Regions from separate parts of the Homo sapiens genome. Here all the other regions are linked to region 3. The links are contacts of gene promoters, found by promoter capture Hi-C in human tissues and cell types (Jung and others, 2019). All regions are on one chromosome and are shown on one strand. Each heading gives the region's core, a stretch centred on a gene start or on the middle of the fragment in contact. The rest is flanking DNA. Distances are from core to core; before and after follow the strand shown.

What was found. The method cuts DNA at HindIII sites, captures the fragments that hold promoters and counts their contacts. A contact is called where the count stands out against the background at its distance.
Region 1: a contact is called between a fragment that was not itself captured here and the fragment with the promoter of ZNF141 in region 3, in 1 of the 25 tissues and cell types used here (dorsolateral prefrontal cortex).
Region 2: a fragment that was not itself captured here is called in contact with the fragment with the promoter of ZNF141 in region 3 in 1 of the 25 tissues and cell types used here (dorsolateral prefrontal cortex).

What each region holds. Positions count from the first base shown.
Region 1 is chr4:602,127-604,826 of GRCh38, reverse strand. The region is part of intron 1 of LOC124900162 (a long non-coding RNA gene); the gene reads right to left. Among named protein-coding and RNA genes, the nearest start is that of PDE6B, 22 kb to the left of the region's middle. The HindIII fragment of the contact is 9,672 bases long and covers 1-2,700 here.
Region 2 is chr4:33,137-35,836 of GRCh38, reverse strand. No RefSeq gene overlaps it. Among named protein-coding and RNA genes, the nearest start is that of ZNF595, 19 kb to the left of the region's middle. The HindIII fragment of the contact is 4,755 bases long and covers 1-2,700 here.
Region 3 is chr4:336,418-339,117 of GRCh38, reverse strand. It overlaps ZNF141 (zinc finger protein 141), which reads right to left and starts at 1,304. Exons shown (of 4, transcript NM_003441.4): 1 at 1,132-1,304. The coding sequence starts at 1,134. RefSeq lists enhancers at 1,455-1,554, 599-1,559, 1,665-2,180 and silencers at 2,195-2,304, 2,535-2,594. The HindIII fragment of the contact is 20,671 bases long and covers 1-2,700 here.

The DNA of each region.
Region 1 (2,700 bases), core at 33-2,532, 270 kb before region 3:
AAAAATTAGCTGGGTGCGATGGTGTACACCTGTAGTTCCAGCTACTTGGGAAGCAGAAGTGGGTGAATTGCTTGAGCCTGGAATGTTACGGCTTCACTGGGCTATGGTGGTGTCACTGCACTCCAGCCTTGGCAAGAGAATGATACCCTGTCTCTAAACAAAAAAACCCAAACCTCAAAACAAATTGGATTGTTTGTTTACTTATGACAGCAGTTTCTCCTTATCTGCTGGGTATACATTCCAAGACCCCCCAATGAATGCTTGAAACCATGGATAGTACTGAACTCTGAACTTTATACATACTACATTTTTTCCTATAAATATATACCTATGATAAAGTTTAATGTACAAACTAGGCAAAATAAGAGACTAAAAATAATAATAAAATAGAACAATTATAACAGTAAACTGTAATAAAAGTTACGTGAATGTGGGCTCTGTCTCTCTCTCTCAAAATATCTTGTTGCATGTAATATTTTCCGACCACAGTTTACTGCTGGTAACTGAAACCACACAAAGTGGAACCACAGACAAGCGTGTGGTGGGGGGTGCTGTAATGCATTTTGTTCTTTATATATTCCAGACATAAATCCTTTATCAGATATGTGATTTTAAAATACTTTCTTCCAGTCTATGAATTGCCTTTTTATTCTGTTAACAGTGTCTTCCCAAGAGCAGATGCTTTTAATGCTGATGAAGGCTGGTTTATTGTTTTTATAGATGATGCTTTTGAAATCACAGCTAAAAAATCTTTGTCCACTCAAGATCACAGAAATGTTCGCTTAGGTTTACTTCTAGCAACTGTGTAGTCTTAGGTGTGACATTTACGTCTGCAGTACATTTTGAGTTATTTTTATATGTGGTCCGGGTATAGATCGAGGCTCTCTTTTTCTTTTTGCACATGCATATTCAATAGTTCCAGCATCACTGGTTGAAAAGACATTTCTTTCTCTACGAATTGTCACATTTACATATTATACCACTTCACATACAGTGCAAGAACCTTACGTCAGTGTTATGGATTGAAATTGTGTCCCACAAAATTCATATGTTGAAATCCCAGCCCCCAGTACCTCATGACGTGATCGTTATTTGAAGGTAAGACCTTTAAAGAGGTAATTTAGGCCGGGTACGGTGGCCCGCACCTGTAATCGCAGCACTTTGGGAGGCCGGGTACGGTGGCTCGCGCCTGTAATCCCAGCACTTTGGGAGGCCGAGGCAGGCGGATTGCCTGAGCTCAGGAGTTCAAGACCAGCCAACATGGTGAAACCCTGTCTCTACTAAAATACAAAAAATCAGTTGGGCGTGATAGCGTGCACCTGTAATCCCAGCTACTCGGGAGGCTGAGGCAGAAGAATCGCTTGAACCCGGAAGGTGGAGGTTGCAGTGAGCTGAGATCATGCCACTGCACTGCAGCCTGGGCAACAGAATGAGACTCAGTCTCAAAAAAAATAAAATAAATAAATAAATAAATTTTAAAAATAAAGAGGTGATTAAGTAGAAATGAGGCATGAATGTGGGGCTCTAATTCAACATGGCTGGCATTCCTATAAGACGAGGAGACCAGGTCACACAGAGTCCCCTGGGTGAGCCCGCGTGGAGGGAAGACCATGTGAAGAGGCAGCAAGAGAGCAGCTGTCTGCAGACCAAGGAGAGAGACTTCTGCGGAGACCACACCCGTCAACGTCTTCATCCCAGACTCTCAGCCTTCAGAATGGTCAGAGGACACATTTCTGCTGCTGAAGCTACCTAGTCTGTGGTAGCTTGCTATGGAAGTGTTAGAAAACTAACAAGGAAAGTGGGGGTCTGTGTGTATTTGGGGGATCAAAGCCTTTGTGCAGAGGCCCCTGACCCTCCACTCTCAAGGCCTGGGTAGGGCTGAGGAATGACCGCATCTGTGCTTCTACAGGCTTGCATCGCCCTGGCAGCTGGAAGCCGGTTCTGCGGTGTTAGGTGAACACAGGGCACCTGACTGGTCCAAGCACGCCACCCAGAGGCAGCCTTGGAACTGCACCTGCTGGGCAGGACCTGGGCTCTACCTGCGTCCTTCCTGACAGCCCATCAGAGTCCATGGGATGGATGCACCTGCTCGTGCACCTGCCTCCAAGGTCTGTGGGCTAGGTGGGCCCAAGGGGGCCTGGTGTTGGCACAGAGCCTCTGGAGCCAGGAAGATGGTGGCAGTGTTTGGTGGCTTCTCCTGGCCTGAACATGGCCCCCAGGGCTGGGGTGGGATAGGATGCCCTCATCTGCAGGTCCTTAAGCGGTTGTGATGACAAGAAGTGGGAGTGGCTGCTCAGGGCCCCTGGGCAGCTGGACCTTGGGGACAGTCCCTGGGCTGGGAAGGCGCTCAGAGTGCACGTCTTAGCAGCCTGGGGTGCCTGCTGCCCTTGACGGGGACATGGGTGGGTTTTTATAGGGCAGGGGAGTGGCCGACCTTGGGTAGAAAGGAGCAGAACGAAGGCCGGAGGAGGGAGGTGACTGGGCAGAGGCAGCCCCAGTGGCCGGGCCGCTTGCCCCCGTCTGTCCTGTGGGGCTCCCTCACGTCCCTTCAGTCTGCCCCCACTTTGGCGCCTTGAATTTGAGAGAGGCCACGTGTTCTTGAAGCCTAGTGGGATCCTCGGCAACTGCTTTTGAAATTCCTCTTTCACAACCAAGGTGGCTGGGGCAAGCCATCTCCCATCAGCATTTTGGAGAACAAAT
Region 2 (2,700 bases), core at 35-2,534, 300 kb after region 3:
TAGCTTTTCTGACAAACAAGCAATGGGGAAAAGACTCCGTTCAATAAATGGTGCTGGGATAACTGGCTAGCCACATGCTGAAGATTGAACTGGGCCCCTTTCTTACACCATACACAAAAATGAACTCAGGATGGATTAAAGACTTAAGTGTAAAACCCAAAAATATAAAAACCCTGGAAGACAACCTAGGCAATACCATCCTGGACATAAGAACAGGCAAAGATTTCATGACAAAGACAACAAAAGCAATAGCAATGAAAGCAAAAATTGACGTGGGATCTAGTTAAACTAAAGAGCTTCTACACAGCAAAAGAAACTATCAACAAAGTAAACAGGCAACTTGCAGATTGGGAGAAAGTATTTACAAACTATGCATCTGACAAAGGTCTAATATCCAGCATCTATAAGGAACTTAAACAAATTTACAAGAGAAAAACAACCCCATTAAAAAGTGGGCCAAGGACATAAAGAGACACTTCTCCAAAGGAGACAAACATGTGTGCCGGGCGTGGTGGCTCACGCCTGTAATTCCTGCATTTTGGGAGGCCAAGGAGGGTGGATCACAACGTCAGGAGATTGAGACCATCCTGACTAACATGGTGAAACCCCGTCTCTACTAAAAATACAAAAAATTAGCCGGGTGTGGTGGCAGGCACCTGTAGTCCCAGCTACTTGGGAGGCTGAGGCAGGAGAATGGCGTGAACCCAGGAGGCAGAGCTTGCAGTTAGCTGAGATCGCACCACTGCACTCTGGCCTGGGTGACAGAGCGAGACTCGGGCTAAGAAAAAAAAAAAAAAAAAAAAAAGCAAACGTGGCAAACAAGCATATGGAAAAAAGCTCTAGATCACTGATCACTAGAGAAATGCTCATCAAAACCACAGTGAGGCACCATCTCACACCAGTCAGAATGGCTATTACTAAAAACTAAAAAACTAACAGAAGTTGGCAAGGTTGCAGGGAAAAGTGAACATGTATACACCATTGGTGGGAGTGTAAGTTAATTCAACTGTGGTGGAAAGCAGTATGGTGATTCCTCAAAGAGCTAAAAGCAGAACTACAACATTTGACCTAGCAATCCCATTACTGGTTATATACCCAGATGAATATAAATCATTCTACCATGAAGTTACATGCATGCAAATGTTCATTGCAGCACTATTCACAATAGCAAAGACATAGAATCAACCCAAATACTCATCAGTCACGGATTGGATAAAGAAAATGTGCTACATATACACCATGGAATAATATGCAGCCATAAAAAAGAATGAGATTATGTCTTTTGCATTAGTATGGATGAAGCTGAAGGGTATTATCCTTAGCAAACTAACGCAGGAACAGAAAACCAAATACAGCATGTTCTAACTTATAAGTGGGAGCTAAATGATAAGAACTTGTGAACACAAAGAAGGAAACAAAAGACACTGGGGTCTACTTGATGGGGGGAGGGTGGGAGGAGGGAGAGGAGCAGAAAAGATAACTATTGGATACTGGGCCTAATACCTGGATGATGAAATAACAGGTACAACAAACCCCTGTGACACGTATTTAACTGTATAACAAACCCTCCCGTGTACCCCCTAACCTAAAATAAAAGTTAAAAAAAAAGAAACACAGCTTTTTATTTTTTTTCTTTTTAATCCCATAAAGGTCATGGGCCATTTGCCACCTGAACAGTCAGTAACACATGAGTGGAAAGAAACTGAACACCCAGGGACACCAGAGACCGTTCACTGTAGAGGAAGGAGGCAGGTATAACTCATAAGGTGAACTTCCTCCAGTCCCAGAGTTGTTCCCCTCTCCTTAAATGTGGGTCCCATGGAATTCAGACTAGGAAGTAAAGCAAATGAGAAAGGCCTACAGGGGAGCAGTTCAAATGTGTGGAAAAGGATAGAGCAGCCCCAATGAGGAAGGAAGGCTGGACAAGCAATGGATTTGTAGGGAAGACAATGTGCACCCATCGGAGCTCTGATTCCTTCATTTTCACTACCCTCCCCTGCCCACTAACATAAAAAAAGTATTGATGGCAAGTGTTGGGCCATAAGACATTTCCTTGCTTTATAATCTGGATTTGGGGGGTTACATTTCAGAGATAATGAAAATCTCCTCCTTTAGTTAACTTTTAATTTCATAATTCTAACTTTGTTTTTACAGATTTGTGAACATGTAAAACAAAGAAAACAGCATGGGAGTAATTTATAATCAACAAATATGTGTTCACTGAGTGACACTCACATGGCATATGGCATATGGGCATCCTGAGAGTAGGATCGTGGGGCATCCGATGGTGATTGTCCTTAGAGTTGGTCGGAGCCCAGCCTTCCACGGTCTGCGCACTGCTGTGTGTACAATCGGTGCCTTCTTTAAGTTCACAGCAATGCCACAAGGCAAATAGCACTGTCTTCACTTTCTGTGTGAGAGAACTAAGGCTGGGTGAGAGTATGCAGAGCTGGATCATGGATTTGTTTGGCTCCTTCTAGTTTCAAAACCTGTAAATATTTTGCTGTCTCTAATGCTAATCTTAGCACTATATTTGGAATAAGCATATAAACATATAACCACAATCCACTCAGGTAATAGGCAACCAAATTATAAATAAATGCTCAACAAGATTATGAAATGATTGAATGAGTTATATATAAGAATAATAACTGGTGGAAGTGTTATTCATAGGATAAAGTAGAAATCATTTAAATGGCT
Region 3 (2,700 bases), core at 55-2,554:
GACAAGTGTGGCCGTGCGAATGCCCAATGGGCGGGCTCAGGAGTGGGTTAGCATTGGGTGGGGGCTGGCAGCAGGGTGCAGGGAAGGGATGTTTCTCAGAACTCCTTTCCTCCAAGTTCTCAGCGCCCTCTCTCCCCGGGAGGAGACCTGGAGGAACAGAACAGTGCGCAGCAGGACAGTGCATGTGCAGAACCCGGCTGGTCTCCCGCGGACACCTGCGACTCCCTCCAGCCCAGGCTCAGCCATGTCTTTCTTCTGACAGGAAACGTGAGGAGTTTGCTCAACACCAGTCAATGCTCCGACCCCAACGGGCTGTCCAACAACTCACTAACGACACCACCCGGAGTCAGCACAGACCCCACAAGCTCAGCGCTCTTCCCGCAGCTGCCCCCCTGCAGACGCCAGTCCCTGCCTCTGGACACCCGTCTTCATTTCTGAACACCTGTCTACAAACCAGGGGCCCACACCCTCCTCAAGTTCAATAATATGACAGAACTACTCACAGAACTCAGCGAAGCGCTGTGCGCGCCCACACTAGCGTATTCTAAAAGATGCCACTCAGGAACAGCCACGCGGAGGAGGCGCACAGGGCAAGGAGACTGGTGGGCAAGTTGGAGCGGGCGGGTGATTTGCTTCGCTTCCTCACACACCTCACAAAAGCTTTTCCTTCAAGACCCGCTGGCAGCCCCCAAACCACGAGCCACGGCCGGCGCTGTCCCATTAATGAGTCCCCATTTGCTCACATGAACTCTGTTTTGATGGGGCCTCGATCTCATTCCGAACAGGGTAAAGCAGGGACGGGATCCCCAGACCACAGCTTCTCCCACAGCTCCTCCCACGCCGGCATCGCGCACGCCGCGCGGGCGGCTTCCAGATAAGCTACTCCTCACCCCACAGCCTGGGGAAGGTGCGGGGCTGCGGGCGCAGAGCTGCACAAGGAGGGCTGCAGGCTGGGCCAGAGCCGCTGTGCGGGGACCGACAGGAGCCCAGGTCCCTCACCGGAGGGTACTGAGGCCCCAGGGCTGAGCGGCGGCAGCGGGGACTCCGTTCGCAGACTCGGTCCCGCCGCCATTTCCCGCCAGCTCCGATGAGACCTCCTCAGCCTTGGGACGCCCTGCCCCGCACACTCACCATTTCCCCACTTCTGAAGTATTCGGGAGTCTTAGCTACCAATCATCCAATACCCGCAGGTCACAGAGCGACGGAGGCTGAGCTGTGGCCGAATCACCAAGGCCTCCCACAACTGAGAACGCAGAGAGATGAAGCCCCTAACCCGCGGTCTGGTAGTAGCCAGACGCAAAGACCCGCGCCACATCCCGGAAGCCACCGCCTCCTCTCTGGCTGCGTGCCTGATTGGGCAGTTTTCACTCCAGTGCGCTGATTGGATACGGCTCCAATCTCCCCGCCATCAGACCTTGAGTGACAGAAGTTGCAACCACATACTCCACGGAATGTGGCGAGAGTGACAGCCGGGGGGCCTCCAGGCAGTTTCAGGCGGGGCTTTCTCTTCGTGCTTGGCCTGGCACAGCCCAGGGGTCATTTTTTAACCTTGTGATGTGTAAGGTGACGTCCATTTAGAAATTATACACGCACGCACACACACAGACATATACGCGCGCGCGCACACACAGACGCGCGCACGTACGCAGTCTCACATAAACATACAAAAGTCACAGACACACACACACACACACGCACGCACCCACGCACGCACAGCCCATCCTTCCTCCAAGGCTCGCGAATCATCTCTCCACAAATCCTGCCTTCGGGGCCGCAGCCTGCAGGCCGACCTCAGTCCGTCCTCACAGAGCCTAGTTGGGTGCACAGCTCTCCCTGACGCGCGAGGAGCAGGTTCACGGGAGTCGGTCGCGCATCCCCAGCGCCCTGCGGGCCTCGCACCGGCTGTGGCGGTGACCCCGGTGAGGAGGGCTTTGGTGCGGGTCACCGTTGCTGAGGACACCCTCCTCCCCCGGAAGCGCGGTCCTGGGGGTCTGGGGGGCGGGTCCCTGACCGCTGTAAACAATAGGTCGGTGGTGTCCACGCAGCAGGCAGCAAATTCTCAGGAAGTGAGCGTCCCGTCTTTGGCTTCACCTTCGTGTCTGTAGAATGGGGGTGAGGGGACTCAGGACTCGGAGCGCTGTCGGGCGGGGCGAGGTGGGCTGAGAGTGTGTCTCCCTCCCCAAGCTCACCCGGAGCTGTGCGGGGCGGGACCGCCCCAGGACCCTCGGTTCCCAGGAGCTCCTGGGGGCCCCGCCGCCCCCACCCCAGGCCGCGCTGCGCAGCCCCAGTCCCCGCCGGCCCCACCGCGCGGTCGCTTTGAGGTCGGCCGGGGTCTGCCCGGCGATGGCGACGCTGCAGCCGCTGGAGCCGGGGCCACCGGGGATCTCGGCGGGACCTGGCGGCAGCGAGGACGCGGACCCTGGAGAGATGGGAGGGGCGCGCCCCGAGCCCGAGCCCCACCCGGACCCGGCTGCCGTCGGCCTAGCCAGGGCCGGGGCGGACACCGTCGAGGACGAAGCCGGGCCCGCGCCCCTGGGCGACCCGTTGAGCCGCGGAGCCCCGCGGGGTGGAGCCGGGCCAGGCCCATCCGCTCCGGGCGCGGGCAGCTGGCGTCGCGGGTGGGTCAGAACCCAGGACACGCCCAGGAGTCCGACCTCATGGCGCTGCAGGGCCTGGGGAGTGGGGGCTGGGGACAGCGCC